Linked DNA regions of Homo sapiens: region 1 is linked to region 2. The links are contacts of gene promoters, found by promoter capture Hi-C in human tissues and cell types (Jung and others, 2019). All regions are on one chromosome and are shown on one strand. The core of a region is centred on a gene start or on the middle of the fragment in contact, and the rest is flanking DNA. Distances in the headings are between cores, read along the strand shown.

The links. Contacts are between HindIII fragments. The study calls those that stand out against the background at their distance.
Region 1: a contact is called between a fragment that was not itself captured here and the fragment with the promoter of TCERG1L in region 2, in 2 of the 25 tissues and cell types used here (hippocampus and spleen).

Annotation. Positions count from the first base shown.
Region 1 is chr10:131,381,287-131,386,143 of GRCh38, forward strand. No RefSeq gene overlaps it. Among named protein-coding and RNA genes, the nearest start is that of TCERG1L, 72 kb to the left of the region's middle. The HindIII fragment of the contact is 4,705 bases long and covers 604-4,857 here.
Region 2 is chr10:131,308,958-131,313,702 of GRCh38, forward strand. It overlaps TCERG1L (transcription elongation regulator 1 like), which reads right to left and starts at 2,764. Exons shown (of 12, transcript NM_174937.4): 1 at 2,337-2,764; 2 at 196-342. The coding sequence starts at 2,678. LOC101927461 (a long non-coding RNA gene) reads left to right here and starts at 2,899. Exons shown (of 3, transcript XR_242763.6): 1 at 2,899-3,317. The HindIII fragment of the contact is 8,672 bases long and covers 1-4,745 here.

The DNA.
Region 1 (4,857 bases), core at 1,706-4,205, 73 kb after region 2:
TGTCCACGGACATGCGAGCCATGTTGATCGTCTTTGGTTCAGGGTCCAGGCCCGCTGGGGGGCTGTTGGAGTGGCGGAGGAGAAGAGTCTGGGATCCAGACCCCTGAACTTGAACCTGGGACCTGGGTTCCGCCTTTGCCTAGCTGTGTGGCCTCTGGCGCCTGTGTCCCCTCTGCAGAGTGGAAATGATGAAACCTTCCTGGAGGGGTTGCTACACAGCTCAGAAATAAGGTGTGTTAGCCCGCAGCTCAACTCAGCGTCCCTGGATCCCATCCGTCACACACCCTGGGCAAGCACAGAGGTGAGAACTGTCTGCTGGGATGTGTGGTCAAGGCGGGGTCATCAGGGGTGAGAACTGTCCGCTGGCATGTGTGGTCAAGACAGGGTCATCAGGGCCCCCCCTCCACCTGGTCCTGGTGCGCCTCCCTCTGTCTGACTTTTCCTTCTGTGAGGCCCCAGTGTTCCAGTGCCCATCGGTGTGCCCATGGCCGTGACGCTCCCCCGTCTGCACACTGGTGACCCCAGCCTCGCCTCCACCCCAGGCCTCCCCAGGGCCCACCCCAGAGTCACACTTCCCTCTCCCTGGAGCAAACCCAGGCCCATAAGACTTCGTCTTTATGCAGCCCAGGTGAAGGTCAGCGCCGTGGGTAAAGGTCAGTGCTGCAGGGATGCTCGGGAGCAGCGGGTGCCTGAGCCCCTAGGGAAGCTCTCCCTCTGTACTTCAGGGCCACCTTCTTACCATGAACTCAGAGAAAGTGCTGGTGCAGCTGCCACCTTTGGGGGATGTCAACACCCCAGGGAGTATTGGGCCAGTCTCTTGGTGGACTGTCTGAAACAGGTAACGCAAGCACCAATACCACCTCCTTTTTCACTATTTCTAATGTTAATGACTCACTGGTAAAAATTTAAAAAAAAATTTAAATGAAACCTCGCACAGTGTTGCATTAGGTCCCTGTCACTGTAACACATTGCCACAAACTCAGTGTCTTCAGAAACACAAGTGACTCCCTTCGAGTCTTGTAGGGCAGAGTCCAGTGTGGGTCTTCCTGGGCAGAGTTGAGGCTCCAGGGCGGAGTCCACTCCATACCTTTTCCTCCTTCAAGGGGTTTCCGGGATTCCTTGATTCATGGCCCCATCCTCCACCTTCAGAGCAGTGACGCTTATCCCTCTCACCTCCTGGGTCACCTCCCTCCCTCTCACCATCCTGGTGGTCACCTCCCTCTCTCTGACCTGCCTGGTGGTCCCCTCCCTCCCTCTGACCTGCCGGGTGGTCACTTCCCTCCCTCTGACCTGCCTGGTGGTCACCCCTCTCTGACTCTTTTCTGCCTCTCCTTCCCCTTTTAAGGACCCTGGTGATTACACTGGGCCCACCTGGATGATCCAGGCTCATCTTCTGACTTTAAGGGCAGTTAATTAACCATAGTAATTCCATCTGCCGCCTCAAATTCCCCACTTCCGTGGAACCCAACTTATTCACAGGTTCTGGGACTTTGGAACAGGACGACCTTAGGTGGGGGACATTATCCTGCCCACCACAACTATTAACTATTAAAACATAACAGATGAATGTAAACTGGATGGTACAATGGGAAATGTTCAGTGTTTCTTTTGCGAACTTTTGGAACAAAAGAAAATAATCTAAATGAAAATATTTATTTTGACAATTGTATTTTTAGGGTTTATGCCACATGCTAGAAATAAAGGTGATGAGCCAAAAATAATAAAATAAAATCCATCAAAGGCAGGTTAAAGTCATCTGTCCAAATCTTTTGGTGTCAATAAATTGTTCCTTGTTTCGATTATAAAGAGTTTCACAGCAATTATAAACATTTAATAAGGTATGGCCCATTATAATTCCTGACTATAAACCAATCAATGAAACAAACCAGACTGTGTCCCAAAGCCCTTATTCCACATCGTCTTCTTACTTGTCTTACAATAGCAGGCCATCCCCAGATCCAGGAGGGAGGGAAAATGTGAGCAGGTAGAGAGTGCCAAGGAAACAGGGTGACCAACCATCCCCACGTGCCTGGGGCTGACCGATTCCCGCACGCCAGGCTTTCCATTTTAAAACCAGGAAAGTCCCAGGCACACTGGGACCATCACTCACCTCATCCAGGCGTGAGAGTCCCCACACGGCTTTGAGAATTAGGACGAAATAGAGAACTGTTTGATTCTCCCTCAAAATGTGATCACACCTACCAAATCCTTCCTACGCAAATTGTCCCATCTCCTAGAAGCTTCCCAATAACCCATGAGGCCATAGCAGCTCATTTCATGAATGGGGAGACAGAGGCCCAGAGCCACATATCTGGCATATAGCAAAACTTAGAGCTCAGCCCAGGCCTGTCTGGTCCCAAAGCCCACACTCTTCACCTCCCCACTCAATGGCTCTTTCAGCAGTTGCCAGCTATGGATCTGCTGTTTGTTCAACCTGCACTGCGGTGGCCAGGGACTGAAGTGACTCAGGGTGGTGCTCATATGTGCGTGTGTGTGTGTGCCAGTGTCGGAAGGAGTATTTACTTTGAGTAGCATTTCTCTTCTCTCCTCAGTGTTATTTAGAAATTTTATAAAAATTTTTCATAGTGAACACTCTCTAATCTTAAGCTGTAGCCACCAAAACCAAATGCAGTGTGCCTCCTTCCAGAAATTGTTTGCATCTTGTGTTTTTGTTTCCAGACTCGGAGCTGGAGTCTGCAATTACACAGCTTTGCAGACATGGAGCTGAGCCACCTGAGCTTGAGCTCTTGTGCACATTCTATTTGGGTTTTCCCAGAATGTCTGAGGCCTTTGCTACAGATACTGTATGTCTGAGGCTGAAATGGTATCCTGCGGAAAAATAAGCAATTTGAGTACAAGGTGTATTGGAGTTGAGGGGAAATGGTCAGATATAAATAAACACAAAGGGAAAAGAAAGGCATAGAAATTGAAAGCTTAGAATAATGTATAACTATTAAAAGATTCTGAAAAACTCATTTTATCTATTTAATAATCTCTGAGGTAAAAGCGGAGGATAGCAGTCTCCAGTTGGAATTACTGGCTAATGTTATTCATAGCCAATCGTTATCAGCTGCCATCCAGCCCCATATTTTCATATTCTGCTAAAGTCTTCTTCCATGCAAACTTGGGAAGCAGGGTGATTCTTGTCCCACCTCACAGGCCACACAGAAGAGTCAAGAAGAGGTTTTTAATCAATGCGTATTAAGCTGGGAACTTGACTGAGGTCTTCATCACTGCTCAATCCTGCCTCTATGACTATCCGGAAAAAGTTAAAACTCTCGCTAGAGCTAACCAATGTGAAATGTTTCTAAGTGAAAAACGCTGCATAACAACGGTGTTTCAGCAGCATGTTCGGAGCCAGGGGCTCTGTGGGGGACGCTGACACTCCCACTGGGAAAGCCCAGGGCCCTGGAGAACCAGCCAAGCACTCACCTTCTCTCCAGCCTTCGCTCCAACACGCACAGGGGATAAGTCAGGGAATTCCAGGAGCCTCCAGGGGCTCTGACACTTTCATTTTCCTGACAATGTTAAAAGCCCAGGTGTCTAAACAGACACAGACCCATCCATGCATGAAAACATACACACATACAAACACACACTTAAACATATGCACACATACACATATGCACACACACACAATCTGTTTTCAAGTGTATAAGTCCCAGTAAACATACACATATACGAACACACACTGAAACATATGCACATGTACACGTATGCACACACACACACACAATCTGTTCTCAAGTGTATAAGTCCCAGTAAAACAAATTACTTCATGTCAAATATGATTTTTGACCCATAAATAAAAATAAATCCTTATCTTATTCTTGTCTTTTTTATTCTCCCAATGATTACTTTAAACTCCCCTTTTTTTTAATATCCTATTTGGCTTGACTTAAGGAATTCTGAAAAGCTTGCTGCTGAGGGATTCCAGAAGAGTCACAGATGGTTGATGTAATCAACTTCACCCGTTCTTTCATCGTTGGTTGTATTGTGTGGTTTTCCTTCCACTCTGCATGTCTGTGGAGCAGACAGAACTCATGGCCTGGAAAAGTCACCAGAATTTGTTTTTACACCAGCAAAGCACAGAGGGAGGGGCAAAGGGAGAGGCCAAAGGAGGAGCAGAGAGAAAAGCAGAGGGAGGAACAGAGGGAGGAGTGGAGGGAGAAGCAGAGGGAGGAGCAAAGGGAGGAGCAGAGGGAGGAGCGAAGGGAGGAGCAGAGGAAAAAGTGGAGGGAGGAGCAGAGAGAGAAAAAGAGGGAGAAGCGGAGGGTGGATCGGAGGGAGGAGCAGAGAGAGGGATAGAGGGAGGAGTAGAGGGAGGAGCAGAGGGATGAGCGGAGGGAGGAGCAGAGAGAGGAGTGGAGGGAAGAGTGGAGAGTAAGGCAGAGGGAGGAGCAGAGGGAGGAGTGGAGAAAGGAGCTAAGGGAGGACTAGAGGGAGGAGCAAAGGGAGGAGCAGAGGGAGGAGCGAAGGGAGGAGCAGAGGAAAAAGTGGAGGGAGGAGCAGAGAGAGAAAAAGAGGGAGAAGCCGAGGGTGGATCGGAGGGAGGAGCAGAGACAGGGATAGAGGGAGGAACAGAGGGAGGAGCAGAGGGATGAGTGGAGGGAGGAGCAGAGAGAGGAGTGGAGGGAAGAGTGGAGAGTAAGGCAGAGGGAGGAGCAGAGGGAGGAGTGGAGAAAGGAGCTAAGGAAGGACTAGAGGAAGGAGCAAAGGGAGAAGCAGAGGGAGGAGCAAAGGGAGGAGCAAAGGGAGAAGCAGAGGGAGGAGCAAAGGGAGGAGTGAAGAGGAGCTGAGAAAGGACCAGAGGAAGGAGCGGAGGGAGAAGCAGAGAGAGGGATAGATGGGGGAACA
Region 2 (4,745 bases), core at 1,514-4,013:
TAAACTAAAACAAAATGCCCCCCACCAGCTGATATTTTTGAACAAATCAATCTAATCCTGAAATGATTTATTTCTATACCTAGATGGCCAATTTATGGCAACAAGAAAATACATGGGTATTTTTGTTGTTATGTCGATGTTCGACAACTTAATCATTAAAAGCCCCTTATCCAATTAAATCACTTGCGTTTTTACCTTACAGTTAGGAATCCTTTTGTCTATCCAACTTTTCCCAATAGGGGTTGCAAGAGCAGAAGGGCAGAGATGTGGGAAGACGGGCACCAGCTCCACTGTGGAAGAGGGGGGCAGTCCTAGGGACGGAGAATGGCCACCAAACAGCCACTGCAAGCCAAGCAAGAAAAGACAGCTGCATTAGCCTGAATCCATCCACTCGACTTCATGCCAAAACATGCTGGAATAACTGCTTTGAAAAGGGAATTTCAAAATGTATGTATTTGATTATCAGATAAATTTCCTCGAGAAAAACTATAAGTATGTACCAATCAAAGAAAAAATTATAGAAGTTTTCATATCTGAATCATCACAAAGCATTACCAACATTGCATTCTTCAATACTGAAAAAGAACTTCTAAGCACAAAACCACAAGCACGCAGTAAGAAATGGGTTTCTGCTCTGAGATAATGAGAAATCACCATGAAGAAGAGAAATGCTGGGTATTCCTTTTCTAATTCTTAAATTATTTTTATAGGCAGGCTTAGGGCTATATTTTATAATATTCCTTTCAGCATTGCATTTTGTATTAATTACTTTTGTCGTTTTACAAATAACTAATACTTTCAAAATGAAAATATCTAGGAAGTTAAGATTCCAAGTTTCACCAATACAAGGTTCACCAATACAAATAGATTCTATGGCAAAAAAAAAAAAAAAAAAAAAAAAACTAAGCATCTTCTAAGTTGAAGATCTCAATACACAGAATAAAACATCAGTCATGGAAAGGGGCTGGTAATTCAGGGCACCGTCTCTCTAATTAAAATAACTGAGACCTCATAAGGCACTAATAAAATGCATTGCTCAATGACATGGAACGTTTCAGTACCTATTGTTTTAAAATCGTAAAAGCATTTGTGATGTTCCTGTTACATGAAAATGTTCTTCTGGTTGTACATATTCTTACTTTACAGAAGCTGGGTAGCACAAAAATATTTAAAAGATTAATGCTAAGGTTTTTTAAATTTTCTTTTAAATTTATATAAGTGAAAAAATGCAGTTTTTTAAAGCAGAATTTAAAAAATGTAGTTCCTTGACATTATATACCTCTAGTGGCAGCACTCTGATATAACACCCCTCCAAAATACGGCAAAAACTACCAACGTTTCTTGAATAAAATCCAAAATAAACTGCATCACACATAAAAATACAATATCCAGTGCTGCATATGTGATGTATCATTAAGTCTAAAGACCAATTTAGCAGGAGTTTAACAACATCTTTTAGAAAAGCTCACAAGATAATATTGGAATTAAATTAATCAAATGGTGTATTCTAACATAACACCCGTTTGAATATGCTAATGAGGTCAATCCTTGGAATAAAATGCACGCTATTCCCTGATTTAAATGCATCTGCATAGTTAGCTGACAATGAATCTTGCCCAAACCAGCCCGCCTAGCTCTGCTGCACCATTTATCAAAGGTTCAGTCACTTTTTCTTTTTAATCCCATGTCTTAAAAGCCAAACTCTAGTTCTAAAGTGCAGTGTGGCATTAGCGAATGTGGTGGACTCCGGCAGGCCTGGGGCAGGGGAATCTCCGGTAACATCCCTCAGTACCGAAGGCAGGATTTCCCGGCCACTTCCGTCGGTTGGAATTCTCTTAAGCATTGCCCTGAGTCTATTTTCAAATGAAAGGGGGAAAAACCCAAACCAGATTAGAATCTGAAACAGCTGAAACAGCTATCGATTTCCAGCTTGCTTTCAAGTCTGGCAGAGACTGTGAAAGTCCTAACTTCTCCGCGATGTCAGCCACGGCCCGCGGCGGTCACGGAGCCACTTCAGCACCTCGCGATGGACAGTGACCCCCGGCGTGGCGCGAGTTCCCTGCGGTCCCCACGCGGGCCTGGGCGGCGGGTCCCTCCACGGCTCCGTCCAGACACCCGGAGGCACCTGCCAAAGCTGCGGAGGTGGACGACCGGGCGTCCAAGCACGAACTTTCTCGCCGAGGCACGGCTGCCGGGCTCCGTCCTGAGGGTTTGGGGCGGCGAGGACCGCCGGGGAGGAGGGCGCGCGAGCCGGAGGCCAGAGCCGGGCCGGGCAGGGCGCGCCCAGGAGCAGGGGAGACGGCGACCCGGGCCGAGGCGGGACGGGGACACGTTACCTGCCCGTGGAGCGCGGGGAAGGGGTGCGCGGCGGCGGCGGCGGCGGAGTCTGGCGCAGAGGGCAGCGGCAGCAGCGGGAGCACCGGCTCGCTCGGGGCCGGCCAGCCGGGGAGACCGGGGAGCAGCGGGGCCGCGGGCGGCGGGGCCGAGGCGAGCAGCACCGGGGGAACCACGACCCCCGCGCTGAGCCGGAGCAGCCCGGCCGAGCCCGGCACCATCCAGACCCAGGGCGGCGGCGGCGGCGGCTCTGCGTCCATCGGCCAGAGGAGAGGCTGCCGCCGCCGGGGCTGCTGCTGCTGCAGCTGCCGCCGCCGCCGCTGGAACCTGGCGCCCGCCTGCATCCTACATCCCCGCGCTGACGGCGGCGGCGGGGGCGGCGGGCGCCCGAGATGCTGGGCCGGCGGCGGCGCGGCTCCGGAGCGAACTCACTTGGCTCCGCGGCGCGGCCGCTCGCTCCGCCCCTGCCCCGCGCGGGAAGCTCCTCCTCCTCCCGCCCGCGCCGCCGCCGCCCCCGGACCCGGCCCCCGCCCCGGTCCCCGCCCGCCCGCGCCCCTCCCCGCCGGACCCCGCCCCGCCCTCGCGCTCCCCGGCCCTGGCCGGGGTCTCCTCCCCGCTGCGCCCCTGGACCCGGGCGGCCGCGGAGGACGTGGGTGGGAGAGGGCCGAGGGCGCGCCCGGCTGGGCTCCCGCCGATGCCGGCCCCCTGGTGGCCTCTGGCCCTCTGGGACCCAGCGCACCGCGAGGGAGGCTCCGGGCTCCGCACTCAAGGGCAAGCGGAAGCCGAGGTGGCGGCGCCGGAGCCAGGCATGTCCCGCTGCCCAGCGCGGGGCTGAGGGCGCAGACGGGGACCGCGCGAGCCGCTCTCTACCTGGCCTCCTCGGAGTCCAGGGCGCGGAGGGTACTGGGCTGCGGATCCGGCGCAGGCGGCCCCGGACGCTGCTAGGCGCGGGCGGATTTCTGTTGCACAAATGGGCCAAACAGGTTCGTAAGGCCCCCGCGGGTCCCCTGGCCCGGAAGTTGAGCCGCGGGTGCCTGGTCTGAAGTTCCGCGCCCCACAGTGGCCCGCGGGCCTCGGCGGCTCCTGCCCTACGCCCTCCAAGGCACCAGGCAGGTGGCCCCAGGGCCTTTGCCCACGACACCCCCTGGGTGGGGCAGGACCACCCCTCTGTGAATTCGTCCTGGATGCCCCCAGGCACAGTCTGTACTCCTCCCTCCCCCAGCACACGCGGCCTCTGACGCTGCACGCCGAGCTTCCTGGGACCCAGGACGAACCGGGCTCCAAGGACCCTCGCTCCGCCCGGACCACACGCAGGCAGCGCCGGCCGAGCCGAGCCTGGGTCCGCACTGGCCACGCGCAGCCACCGCCAGACGGCGCTAGCCCTCCCCCGCTGTAGACCCTGCTTCGGAGGCCGCCAGCCTCCTCCCCATCCCGGGTCCACAGCTTCAGTGCAGCCCCTGGCGACGCGCGCTGACAGCTGGGCAGAGACTTCCGTGCGCTGTAAACCCCTTAGGTCGCTAAACCCAGGAAACCCAAGCACAGCTAATGCCAGCGCGAGACCAGTGTTGTTAGAGGCATTTGAAGGGTCTTTCTGGATGCAAAAGGCAGCATTATGATCCATGCATTTAAGAACTTGCATGAAAAACCCTCCCTGACCTGGGTGGGAGAGCAGGCACCCACCCACCCAGCGGCACTGACACGCCTGGTACTCCAAACCCGTGTTCGCATCACCTCCCACCTGTCCACTGCCAACCTCCTGAGATGGCCTAAAGCACCCGAGTGCTTTTAATTTGCGTCTAGGGTTGTTTCCTCATTATCCTGATTTGCTTAATTTCCTCTTGGCCTGGCCTGATTTCTTTTAGATCTGGGCATATGCTGATTTACATAGCTGGCGCCTCCATATTTTCCTCCACGAAAACCAGTTTTCAATTAGCAAGTTTATCTCTCTCTTTGATGCAAAAGTACTGGCATTTTTTTTATTCACCTAAAATCAGAAAGCTCTGCACATTAGAAGGCTGTTACTATTCACTTACACCCTTAATTTATGTGCATATATTAGTATGTGCACATGTGTTATAAATGTGTTAGTTTAATGGTCAGAGCCAGATCAGGATATTGGGGAGGCGTCTCCAGGCAGGCTCACATGCCCCTGCCACCCCCCACCTCCCCCACCGCATAGTCCCTTTTGCACAGGAGATTCTCCTTCCTTCTGCTTGGAGGCAGAGACAGAAGGCCAGGGGTGCTCGTGCCTGGCTTGCATGCTGTTCTCTGCAAAAGCAGGGTTTTGCGTGTGTGGCCCCCAGGTTCCTGGGAAGGTAGGGTTGGCCACAGTCTGTGGGAGCTGTAGCACTCCTTTGGGGAATCCCAGCCCCATCCCCACTGTCCTAGAAAGGGTTCTGCTGAAGTCCGTT